Linked DNA regions of Homo sapiens: regions 2 and 3 are each linked to region 1. Evidence: promoter capture Hi-C in 16 types of primary human blood cells and fetal thymus (Javierre and others, 2016). All regions are on one chromosome and are shown on one strand. Each heading gives the region's core, a stretch centred on a gene start or on the middle of the fragment in contact. The rest is flanking DNA. Distances are from core to core; before and after follow the strand shown.

Region 1 (4,099 bases), core at 1,048-3,547:
CTGCCCTGGCCAGGTGGCCCGGTGGGACGAGGCCTCCTGGTGGCAGACGCTGCCTCTCATGACTCTTGATGTGCCGAGAAGGTGTGGCCAGGGGCTGTCCTGGCTGGGGCTGGGATGCGGGACGGGGGCCAGGATCCCAGGGTGGAAAAGGGTGGATCTTAAAGTTCATGCCACATCCCCCAACCCAAGGCGGATTCTCTTTCTTGCTGCACCAGTCAGGGCCTGGGGAATGAACTGGCCACTCAGGGTCACGGGCCCACCATCCTCAGCTCCTCTCCCCATCTGTAAATGGAGACAGGGAGGAGTCATTGCCTGGGGCCACCGGAAGCCAGCAAGGCCGGGCCCCAGAGCCACTGCCCAAATGCAGGCTTCCAGGCCTTCTCCCAGACACTGCGGTGTGGGCGTCCGAGACCCAGAGAGGCAGCCTCATGCGCTGGGGCGGGGAGCCAGACGGAGGGTACCCAAGGCCTCCCGCACCAGCCTCATTGATGTGCTGTTCCCCACTGGGCTTGGTACACACAGTAGGTGCTCATTAAATGTGTGTTGAGTGAAACAGACAAATGCAAAGTGGCAGAGTGGGGGCTGCGAGGACAGGTACAGGAGCCCAGGGGCTGTAATCAGGGCCAGGCTGTGTGGTGCAAGGGCCCCGGAGAAGGAGTCATCAGCCTTGGGTCACCTCCTGCAGGCCAGGGTTCACGATGTGAGACAAGAGGCAGGATCACACCAGCCAACAGAGGACCACCCCATCAGACAGGCTGGGGACCACACCATCGAATAGGCCAGGGAACCACACCATCAGATAGATAGGCTGGGGACCACACCAACCACACCATCAGATAGGCTGAGGACCATGCCATCAGACAGGCTGGGGACCATGCCATCAGACAAGCCGGGGACCATGCCATCAGACAAGCCGGGGACGACGCCATCAGACAGGCTGGGGACCAAACCATCAGATAGATAGGTCGGGGACCACACCTTCAGATAGGCTGGGGACCACACCATCAAATAGACCAGGGACCAAGCCATCAGACAGGCCGGGGACCACGCCATCAGACAGGCTGGGGACCACACCTTCAGACAGGCTGGGGACCACACCATCAAATAGACCAGGGACCAAGCCATCAGACAGGCCGGGGACCACACCATCAGACAGGCTGGGGACCACACCATCAGACAGACCGGGGACCATGCCATCAGACAGGCCGGGGACCACGCCATCAGACAGGCCGGGGACCACGCCATCAGACAGACTGGGGACCACGCCATCAGACAGGCCGGGGACCATGCCATCAGACAGGCTGGGGACCACGCCATCAGGCAGGCTGGGGACCACGCCATCAGACATGCTGGGGACCACGCCATTAGATAGACTGGCCAGGGACCATGCCATCAGATAGGCTGGGGCAAAGCCATCAGACAGGTGGAGGTCCATGCCATGGGGCATGAGGTGGTGTCTGTCACCTGGTCCGGGAGCACAGTGTTGCCCATCCGTGCCACCTCCCTGAGGCCCTGGCAAGCATCATTCTCTAATGCAGACAGATGGCTGGGGCGCCAGCAGGAGCCAGACTGCCGCGGAGCAGGAACTGGGCAACTAAGGGTGATTTGGGCCGTAGAGAAGTGATTGATGTGGACAAATGGAGTCTGCAATGCAGGCCCCACGCCACCCTGGCTCCCTGTGCGAACCCAGGGCTCTGCTGCCCTGGCGGGGCTGACTCCATGGACGAGGTGGCTCATGTAGGGCTGGCTGGAAGTAATCATGTCACCCCCTGCAATCATGCCCCCAGGAGATTAGAATAGGACCCTGATCCCTCGTTTCTGTCCTATCCCCTCCTTTCCGTCCCATCTCCTCCTTTCTGCCTCATCTCCTCCTTCCTGCCTCATCTCCTCCTTCCTGCCTCATCTCCTTCCTGCCTCATCTCCTCCTTCCTGCCTCATCTCCTCCTTCCTGTCCCATTTCCTCCTTCCAGTCCCATCTCCTCCTTCCAGTCCTATCTCCTTCCTGCTCCCATCTCTTCCTTCCTGTCCCATTTCCTCCTTCCCGTTCCACCTCCCTGTTCCCATCTCCTCCTCCTGTCCCGCCCCCTCCTTCCTGTCCCGCCCCTCCTTCCTGTCCCACCCTCTCCTTCCTGTCCTGCCCCTCCTTCCTGTCCCGCCCCCTCCTTCCTGTCCCGCCCCTCCTTCCTGTCCCACCCCCTCCTTTCTGTACCTGTTGACCTCATCTGGGCTGCAGTTGGTGACTGCTCGAAGGGGTGGGAGGAACAGTATAAAGTCCTGTCCCCTTCCTGCCTTCAAGGGCACCCCTGAAGGACCATATCCACTGTGGACCCCCTTGGGATCAGCCGAGGTCTGTAGAGGTGACATTGCAGCCCAGCACCTCCCTCCTCCGCCCTGCCCTCCTCTGTCCTCCTTCCACAGGTGTGGCCAAGGGCACTGCCCAGTTGGCCTGTGACCCCCAGCTGAGGCTGCTTCCTGGGCAGCTGACTTCAAGTTTGTGACCTGAGCTCTCCAGGCCCCCGAGCGGCTGGTGCCTTGGCCCTGCAGTTCTGCGGCCAAGACTCCTCCTCTGGGATCTCGTCTTACCCTGCTGCGGGTGCCAGGGCTGCATGAAGCAAGGGCGAAAGTCCCCTTCGCCCGGGCGCTGCCCTCTGCCTGCTGTCCCCTGTGCTCCTGTTCCCCGTGGCTGCCCAGGGACAGGTGTGTGGGATGGAGGACGCGGGAGAGGCTGAGTCCTCCCCAGTGGACCCCCAGATGCAGACCCTGAGGCAAGGGAGAGTGAGAAAGTGAAGGAAAGAACACAGCTGGAAATGCAACCAAGAAGGAACCCCAGCCCGGACCACTGTGAGCAAGGAGAGCCGAGCCCCGGGGAGCCCTGAGACAGTGTGGGAGTGGAGGCCTGGGGCGCCTCCAGGCAAGGCAGCGGGATGTCTATGCCCCAAGCCCTGCCAGTCGTGGATGGAGACGCACACTTTAGTGCGGGCTCCAGAGACAGAGGGAGCCCCAGGCCGAGAGCTGTGGGTGCTGGGCAGGTGGGCATTGGCCAGCATTGCCCCCACTCATGGCGGGTCCACCTTAATTCGACGGGTGTGACACTCTCCTCACACATGTGCACATTCAAGAGGCAACTGTCTGTTTCTATAACTGGGTGCATTTCGGTCTGGAGCCGTCGAGCCGGGTGGTGGCCATGAATCCCAGGCAACTTGGGGGGCCCAATCCAGGGTTGCCTTTTGGGGGCCTTGGGGCGGCTAGTGCAGTTCCACATGCTGTTAAGGACCTTGAGATGGGAGATTATTCTGGATGGTCAGGGTGGGCACAGTTTAATCACAGCCCCTCTAAGAGGGACTGGGAGGGTCAGGGTCAGAGGAGGAGAGGGGACGACGGAAGGGAGAGAGAGGCTGGGAGATGCCGTGCAGCCAAGGAGGGCAGGAACCTCTAGAAACCACAAAAGGCGAGGACACAATCTCTCCCCTGAGGCAGAGACCCAGGGCTGCCCCGCACAGTCGCGCAGATCGTGTACTGCCCTGCTCCTGGGGCTCATTCACACAGGTTGCCATGGCTGTGGGGTCCCTGGGGCTGGGCTATCTGCCAACCTGGGGGACGCTGCACCCTGTTTTCTGTCCTGTCTACTCCAGCTTTTCACACTCTCTGTTGCCCTTGTCCTTGGGCATCTCAGTGACTCGAAGGAATTGGGTCTTGAGACACAGCCGAGCCTGTGAGCGCTGACCTGTGTAAAGAAGACACCAGAATGAGATGTCTCCACACACAGAGAGCTGCAGCCGATGCCGGCCGGTGACTTGGGACTTGGATGCTTAACAGGAGGCTCCCCCTCTCTTGGGAGGTGAGGATGGGGTTGGGAGCATGTGTCTCAGGGGCTGGCTTCACTCGCTCCTTAGCCCCAGCAGGTGCATCTCCCCCCTGCGAGGGCCTGGTTGCTGTAGTTCTTCTAGAAGGCCGCACTGAAGGGACCCTCTGATCCTCATGCCAGCTCTTAAGACATGCTCCACTCTTAAGACAGAGACAGGAGCTCCCGGGCTCGTGCACACCCTCCCTCTGCGCATGTCCAGGACTCAGGGTCACAGCGTGGGCTCGTGATCCATGG
Region 2 (4,099 bases), core at 732-3,231, 370 kb after region 1:
CGGGCCTGACTCAGGGGGCACTGCCTCCCACCTGCAGCCTGTGACATGTCTGCCTGTTGTCCTGAGAGGCCAGAGGGACTGAACTCCCAAGAGGGAAGTCCAGGTGTGTTAAAGGTTGCTTTAATTTCTCCAGAATCACACGAAACAAAAGCCGTGTGTTCCCTACACACTGCCCGCAGGCCAGGTTGGCTTTTGGCCACCCATCGACACCCTGGGGAGGGGAGAAGACTGGCAGCGGGAGCCTAGCAAGGGGGTTCACCAGACCCAGGAAGAGACCCCGTTCCTTCCTCAGCATTCCTCCTTGTCCCTCAAAGTCTAGCTTAGCGCCAGCAAAGAAGAACTGGCTAGGGGCCCCCCTACTGCACAGCCGATCCCCAGGACCCGGCGCTGCAGCCAGCACGGACAGCTGCCTCCTGCCTCCTGCGTCCTGCCCTCCACCCTCACTCGCCCCTTTCTGTTCTCATCTGACACCAGATTCTCTGCAAGCTGCTGGTGTATGGCCCACCCTCCCCTGTCAGGCCCCTCCTCCTGGTGATAGCCAGCAGGGATGGAGGGCCCACTGTGTGCCTGCCCCAGCCTCAGCACCCTACAGCGCTGGACACACTCACTCCCCGCTCACGGGAGCCCCCAGGCACACAAGTCAGCACCCCATTCTGTGGATCCAGAATCCGCAGCCACCCCTCTGCTATGCCACCCAGCCCCGCGTTCTCCTAGACAGGACAGCTGCCCACCTTCCCCTAGGCCTGGCAGAGGCCTTGGAGGCCAACTTGGAAGGGCGGAGGGAAAGGAAATGGAGGTGCTGCATGCTGCGTGAGCCCCAATGGTGGCCCGTGAAGGCCCACAGGAGGGAGCAGGCAGGCGGGAGGTGGGTAGGGGCCTGAAGGGCAGGGGCCCATGCTAGGGGTGGTGATGAAGACCCTGTCTTGCCCACTCGCCCACTGCCTTGTTGGCCATCATGCTGCCTCCCCACACACCAGGTGCTCCTAGGGCCAGCGCTGTGCCTGTCGGTCCCACCGGGTCCCCAGCACCCAGCACAGGAGAGGCTGGGCGCATGCGGGCAGGTGCGAGGTACTGCAGCGCATTCGCGGACTGACCACTGCATGTGCCTGGCCTCCGGCCACAGCCCGACCCCCTCACTGAGCCAGTTTCATCCTGACAGTACCCTGAGGCTGAAATCATTGTCCCCTCTTTAAAGATACGTAAACCCATGAAAGAAAGCTGGACAGAGCAGGCAGGTGACACAGAGGTGGGTGCAAGGTCCTGAGTCCCTCCACAAAGATACAGCGGGTTCCCCTCCAGACTGCAGACAGGCTCCCGGGCTCCAGAGGCAGGCCCTGACCATCCCGGTGCCACGGGCTCACAGGTTCTGAAGTCAGGGGCACCCAGGCACAGAGAGGAAACAGGCCTGGGCACAAGGCAGGCTCAAGGTCACTTTGCTACTGCAGGAAGTGCAGGACTCTGCCTGGGGCTTTGATCCCAAGCAGGTGCCTTCTCCACTCAGACCCTCGTTCCCTTCTGTCAATGAAGGAGGCCAGATGGCACGCGGGCCCTTCCGGGAAGCGGTGGGGCTCCTCCAGGGGCCGCCCTGCGCCCGCTGAAGCGCCGCCCAGACACACCTCCGGACAGGGAAGTGTGCTGGGGCCTCACCCACGCCGCCCTGGGTCCGGAGCCTTAAAATGTGCGCTCGATGGAGGCCATCCGCGAAGGCCGCCATACAGCAAAGGGAACAGAAAGCGAGAGCCCCGCGGCCGCAGGTCCCAAGACGGGGACTCGAACCGGCGGGGAGGCGCGCAGCTCCCGACTCCCTGCTGCTGCGTCCGACCGCCTCTAGGACCCAGGGGAGCGCCCTGAGCGCGGCACCTCGCTGGCCAATGGGAGAGCGCGACGGCGATACATTTGCATGTGGGCGCGCCGCGGCCAATGGGCGGCGGGCGCGCGGGCGCGCGGGCAGGGGGTGGGGCGCTTCGCGGCGGCGGGCGCAGTCTGAGGATGGCCGCGGCCGCGGCCGGTGGAGCCCCGGGCCCGGCCCCCGGCCCCGCCGGGCCCCCGCCACCCGCCGCGCCGACCTCGGCCGCTCGGGCCCCGCCGCAGGCGCTGCGGAGGCGCGGGGACTCGCGGCGCCGCCAGGCCGCGCTTTTCTTCCTCAACAACATCTCCCTGGACGGGCGGCCCCCGAGCCTGGGCCCGGGCGGAGAGAAGCCCCCGCCGCCGCCCGCCGAGGCCCGCGAACCGCCAGCGCCGCCGCCGCCGGAGCCCCCCACCGGGCTGCCCGCCAGGACCCCCGCGCCCCAGGGCCTGCTCAGCCCCACGCAGGTGCCCACCGGCCTCGGCCTGGATGGGCAGCGCCAGAGGTGAGTGGGGGCCCGGCCAGGTCAGCCCAGGACGCGGGGTACAGGGACGGGGACGGGGGCCGGATCAGCCCAGGACTAGGGGTCAGGATTACTTGGGGCCTCATCAGCCCAGGACAAGGGGGTCAGGTGACCTGGGGCCTTGTCAGCCCTGGACAGAGGCCAGGACAAAGGGGTTGGGTTCACCTGGGGCCTTGTCAGCCCTGGACAGAGGTTCAGGTGACCTGAGCCCCTGTCAACCCAGGACACAGGGGTCAGGGTCAGTCTGGGCCCTCATCAGCCCAGGACACAGGGGTTGGGTTCACCTGGGACCTTGTCAGTCCTGGATACAGAACTGGGGGTTCCTGGGCTGGCTGAGGGTTTCCTCAGGCCCTGTCACCCCCCACACATAGGGTTCATTGTCCCCTGAATTCTCCCAGCCCCTGAATACGGGGTCTGGATCTCCACGTTGTCAGTGCTCTGAAATGGGTTTTAGGGTTCAGCCCTTATTACCCCTGAGACCCCCAGCCCTGTGGGTTCTGGACATGCCCCCACCCCCATCCACTGGTACCAGTGCCCGGGACACAGGGACACATGGACAGCCCTGTGCATCTCTTCGCATTCTTTGAACCGGGCCACACCGTCCATGCCCACCTCCTCAGACCCAGCATGTGGGCCGGGGTCCTCCTGGCACTGTCACTGACACCTGTTCCCAGAGGCCCCTGCACAGCCACATCTCCCATCCCACAGCCACTGGTCTCTGGCACCCCTCCTCTCCCTGTCACTTCCCTGCTGAGCCCCGCCCTTCCCCACATCACTCTCAGCTCGGTATCTTTGGGTCTGTCACACCCTGGGTCTCCACTGCTCCCCCTGCCTTGATTCCATTTCTGGGAACCACCTCAGCCCATCCCAGGGCAACCCCAACCATGAGCCCTGCCTGTCCAGCGTGTGCCCCCTGCCCAGATGGCCCCTGGCTGCCCGACACCCTGTGTCCTTCTCCCAGAGACCACAGGACCTGGGTGACCCTGCCTCCCACAGCCCTCACCTCCAGGAGTGACTGTGGGCTCTGGGCCCAGGACTGGCTGCTTGTTGCGGTTCCTTCTCAAAGGGAGCCACTGTCCACAGGTCCAAGTGCCTGCTGGGCGGCTGTTCCCAGAGGCAGCCCCTGCAGGTGTGCAGCAAAGGGGCCGACACAGAGCTCTTGGGTCAAGGCTGGCACGTGCTCCTTGCTTACCTGGAGGTCATCAGAGTTGCCCCACGCCCCTGGCCTTCGGGCAGGTGGAGGCATTGGGTTCCTCTAAGGTCTTTGGTTGGGGAAGTTTGGGCCCAGAACACAGCACTCTGTCCTCAAAGACTATGACGTCACATGCAGGTTGCGTCACACGCAGGTCGCGGTGCACTCCATCCTTGGAAGTGTTCCTGGCCGTAGCCAGGCTGAGGGTGCCTGCAGACCCAGGCCTGTCCACAAGATGTCCCCCCACGGACATGCCTGGCCGCTGCTCCAGGGAGGGTCAGAGGGATGATTGGGGCAGAGGGATGGATTTGCCCAAATGTGGCAGCCAGGCCCCATGCATTTGGCATGGCCAGCTCCTTCAGGAAGGCGGGAGAGATGGAACAAGGTGGTGACTCTCCAGGGCAGAGCGGCAAGGCCCTAAGGTGTGGACTCCAGGGGAAGCGGGCTCACCCCAACGGGCCGAGCTCCGCAGGTGTGGTGGGCTTTTCCCTAACCCCGGGCCCTGTTGTTTGACATGGAAACAGCTTTCTCCCTCAGT
Region 3 (4,099 bases), core at 830-3,329, 300 kb after region 1:
GGAGCTGGTAAAGGGGTAACGGAAGGTCGCCTAGCTCCCTACCCCAATGGCAGCCGACCCCCACCCCAGCCTGCCGCGCTGCACCCTCTCCTGCACAGGCCTGAACCTGCTGCGGAACCGTCTGTGGGGTCCCAAGTCCACCACAGACCAGGGGCTTCAGCCTGCTGCCTTCCCAGACGCAGGGACCCTGGACGCCTCCACAAGCACCCTGAATCCTTATCTGCTGTGGGCGAAGAGGAAAGGCCAGGAATAAGGGCGCATGTGGGGCACCCCAGCTCTTCCCAGACGGACAGCGCCGGCTGTCCAGACCCCCGTGGGGGGGATCCAGTGACACCCACCCCGACGGCCCCACATCGCCGCCTTCCTGCCTTCCCAGGTCTTCACCCTTCACCAGCGTCCTCTCCGAGCCCTGACTGACAGGAGTTGAGGGCCCGTTTCTGCAAGGAAGAACTTTCATGCGGTGGCTCCCGCCTGTAATCCCAGCACTTTGGGAGGCTGAGGCGGGCGGATCATCTGAGGTCAGGAGCTCGATGAGACCAGCCTGACCAACATGGTGAAACCCCGTCTCTACTAAAAATACAAAAATTAGCCGGGTGTGGTGGCGGGTGCCTGTAGTCCTAGCTACTCAGGAAGCTGAGGCAGGAGAATCGCTTGAACCTGGGAGGCGGTGAGCTGAGATCGCGCCGCTGCACTCCAGCCTGGGAGACAGAGCGAGACTCCGCAAAAGGAAGGAAGGGAGGGAGGGAGGGAGGGAGGGAGGGAGGGAGGAAAGAAAGAAAGAAAGAAAGAAAGAAAGAAAGAAAGAAAGAAAGAAAGAAAGGAAGGAAGGAAGGAAGGAAGGAAGGAAGGAAGAAAGAAAAAAGAACTTTCATGGCCACCACGCCTGGGTCCACCCGGTGTGCTCCGAGAAAGAAAGAAAGAAAGAAAGAAAGAAAAGAAAGAAAGAAAGAAAGAAAGAAAGAAAGAAAGAAAGAAGGAAGGAAGGAAGGAAGGAAGGAAGGAAGGAAGGAAGGAAAGAAAGAAAGAAAGAAAGAAAGGAAGGAAGAAAGAAAAAAGAACTTTCATGGCCGCCAAGCCTGGGTCCACCCGGTGTGCTCCGAGAAAGAAAAAAGAAAGAAAGAAAGAAAAGAAAGAAAGAAAGAAAGAAAGAAAGAAAGAAAGAAAGAAAGAAAGAAAGAAAGAAAGAAAAAAAGAAAAAAAGAACTTTCATGGCCGCCAAGCCTGGGTCCACCCGGTGTGCTCCGAGCCCGCCGTTCCGTTTCCCGCAACCTGCGGAGCTGCTCCGCGGCAGCGGCGCCTCCATGCAGCCCTCACCGGGAGTGCGAGCGGGACACGGTTCCCTGACCTGGGTCGCCTCCTACCCACACGCATTTCTGGCGCCTGGAGGAAACTCTTCCCGAGTCCCCGAGAGCCGGCTGAGAGCCCCACCGGGGTTGGGGCCTTCGAGCCTGGCACCCAGATCGGGCCTTAGAGGCTGGACCCTGCCCACCTCCCACTGGGACCCCGAGCCTTGTGGCCCCGCTTGCTCAGAAACCGAGGAAATCGCGGGGCTCCCGCCAGTGCACCCCGTCCCAGTCCAGCGACCCGAGCCGGCCGTCCCTATGGAAGCCGGTTCCCTGCACCGAGCCCCGGGTGCGGCCACGCAACGAGGGGGCCCACGGGGTTCCACCGCCGCGTGTCCATCGGTGAGCGGGGCCGGGATCACCGACTCAGCCACCAGACACGGAGCCCGTCTTTAGGCCAGCCTTCGGCGGGGGCCGGGGCAGGGAGGCAGAGGGCTCGGGACTCGCACAAACTTGGAGAAGTCTCTGCGCCCGACTCCCCGGGGCCCACGAAGCCCTCGGCCCGCCCGTCTAGCTGCACTGGTCCGGGCTCCGCGCTGGCCGCCCCGTGTCGTGCGTCCTTGTCGCCAAGCCCCGCGAGCAGGGCCTGCCAGGGTCACGTGGCTCTACGGCCGGAGCCCCAGCGCTGACCCTGCGGGGAAGAAGGGGCGGGCGCGGGGAGGGAAGGGGCGGCGCGGCGGGGGCGGGCCGGGGCGGCGCGGAGGGGGCTGCGGAGCCTCAGCGGCCCGGGCTTCCAGTCTTCGGCCCGCCGGTCGCCGACCCACCGCCACCGCCGTGCCCTGCCGCCCTCCCTGCCCGCTGGTGAGTGCTCCAGCCCGGGCTGCAGCCGCGCGCCCCTCCCCACCCGGCCCCTCCCAGCGCGGCGGGGCCCCGCTCTCCAGGCCCTGCGTCCTGCGGCCGCGCCAGGCCCGTCCTTCCCAGGCCCCCACCGAGCTCACCCCGGGGACCTCCGAAGCCCGGTCGGGGAGGAGGTGGGCTCGGCGTTGTGACTGCCCCGGGGATGACGCGCTGGCCTCTCCCATCCCCGCGGTTCCTCTCCCTCGGGTTCGGGGACCCGCCCCGCGAACGTCCCGGGCTGGGGACTGGGAAGCGCTGCCCGAAGCGGCGGCACCTGCCCGGCATAAGCTCGGGCGCTGGCGGAGGGCGCAGAGCTCCCGTGACCTCCACACCTGTCCCTCTTCCCTGCAGGTCAAGACCACGCCTGGGAGGATGTACCAGAGCCTGGCGCTGGCCGCGAGCCCCCGCCAGGCCGCCTACGCCGACTCGGGCTCCTTCCTGCACGCTCCGGGCGCCGGCTCTCCGATGTTTGTGCCGCCGGCGCGCGTCCCCTCGATGCTGTCCTACCTGTCCGGGTGTGAGCCGAGCCCGCAGCCCCCCGAGCTCGCTGCGCGCCCCGGCTGGGCGCAGACAGCCACCGCGGATTCGTCGGCCTTCGGCCCGGGCAGTCCGCACCCCCCAGCCGCGCACCCGCCCGGGGCCACCGCCTTCCCTTTCGCGCACAGCCCCTCGGGGCCCGGCAGCGGCGGCAGCGCGGGGGGCCGAGACGGCAGTGCCTACCAGGGCGCGCTGTTGCCTCGAGAACAGTTCGCGGCCCCGCTTGGGCGGCCGGTGGGGACCTCGTACTCCGCCACCTACCCGGCCTACGTGAGCCCCGACGTGGCCCAGTCCTGGACTGCCGGGCCCTTCGATGGCAGCGTCCTGCACGGCCTCCCAGGCCGCAGGCCCACCTTCGGTGAGTGCGGGGGCTCCACAGTCTCGGGGCCCAGGAGCGGCCGAATCCGGGTGCAAACCCGCACCCTGCGAAACGCTCCCCTCATCCTCCCCCACGGTCCGAGCCTCCCTGCCAGGAGCGACACCAGCAGCCCCGGGGCGAGACGAGTAAACCTGGGTAACACCCCGCACGGGAAACACCCATCCAGAATTCTGTTTTAACCTGTTAATGAGAAGGAACATCTATTTCCAAACAGCATTCCGGATTGTGCCAATGTGGAGCCTCAAAAGTCTTAATCGTTTTTGTTTTTGTTTTTGAAAAGTTTTGGAAACGATTTTTATAAAGCCCAAAACATCGGTTTATTTAAGTGGCCACATTCGTCTCGGTTCTAGGACGTTTACTGATTTTAATTTGAGACCTGGTTTCAGTCGCTTCCCGAGTATCAGTTTGGAGAATCGGATTCTCGGCCTGTGAGGGGAGCGGCTCTTCCCGGTTGCAGCGTAGTCACTTTCTGGCGAAGGCGGCTCCTCTGAGCTCCGCAGGGGCCCATCCCGTCCCTCCGGGACCTTGGAGGCCTCGACACCCAGCTCCGGAGCTGCCTTTGGGACCCCGCCGGCCCTTTGGCGCAGGAAGCGGGCGCAGCGGCATCCGCAGGACCCCTGGCCCCCGCCTCCCTGGACAGCCCGGCTGCTGGCGCCCACCCCCGGCGGGGCGATGATTGATCCCTGCCCCACCCCCACTCGGCGCCCGGGCCTCCCTCGCGCCGGCGCCGGGCCGGGCCTGGAGGGGACCAGGAAGACCTCCACCCCCAGCCGCACAGTGTGCGAAGCCCGGCCCCAGGGGGCTGTGAGGCGGGGCTGGCCTTCTAAAGGAAGGACACTGGTTGCGACCACAGCCAAGCTGACAGAAGGCACCTCCTCCACCCTCCCAACCCCCCACCCCTGTCATGGACCCGCTTTGCAGAACAGGAGGACAGCGGGGTTAGCGTTCCCAGGAGAGCCCAGGGGCGCCCAAGAGTGTCTGCCAGATAAAGCCCCTTCATCCC

The links. The method cuts DNA at HindIII sites, captures the fragments that hold promoters and counts their contacts. A CHiCAGO score of 5 or more calls a contact.
Region 2: the fragment with the promoter of CABLES2 here is called in contact with the fragment with the promoter of LINC00659 in region 1 in 2 of 17 cell types (M1 macrophages and M0 macrophages); the score reaches 7.2 in M1 macrophages.
Region 3: the fragment with the promoter of GATA5 here is called in contact with the fragment with the promoter of LINC00659 in region 1 in 2 of 17 cell types (M0 macrophages and M1 macrophages); the score reaches 7.8 in M0 macrophages.

The regions. Positions count from the first base shown.
Region 1 is chr20:62,775,054-62,779,152 of GRCh38, reverse strand. LINC00659 (long intergenic non-protein coding RNA 659) reads left to right here and starts at 2,297. Exons shown (of 3, transcript NR_046225.1): 1 at 2,297-2,347; 2 at 3,767-3,838. RefSeq lists a silencer at 2,829-2,990. The HindIII fragment of the contact is 9,640 bases long and covers 1-4,099 here.
Region 2 is chr20:62,405,167-62,409,265 of GRCh38, reverse strand. CABLES2 (Cdk5 and Abl enzyme substrate 2) reads left to right here and starts at 1,981. Exons shown (of 10, transcript NM_031215.3): 1 at 1,981-2,351. The coding sequence starts at 1,990. LOC105372709 (a long non-coding RNA gene) reads left to right here and starts at 2,372. Exons shown (of 2, transcript XR_936967.3): 1 at 2,372-4,099. RefSeq lists a silencer at 1,815-2,064. The HindIII fragment of the contact is 20,791 bases long and covers 1-4,099 here.
Region 3 is chr20:62,473,975-62,478,073 of GRCh38, reverse strand. GATA5 (GATA binding protein 5) reads left to right here and starts at 2,079. Exons shown (of 7, transcript NM_080473.5): 1 at 2,079-2,144; 2 at 2,532-3,075. The coding sequence starts at 2,553. RefSeq lists an enhancer at 3,811-4,099. The HindIII fragment of the contact is 37,958 bases long and covers 1-4,099 here.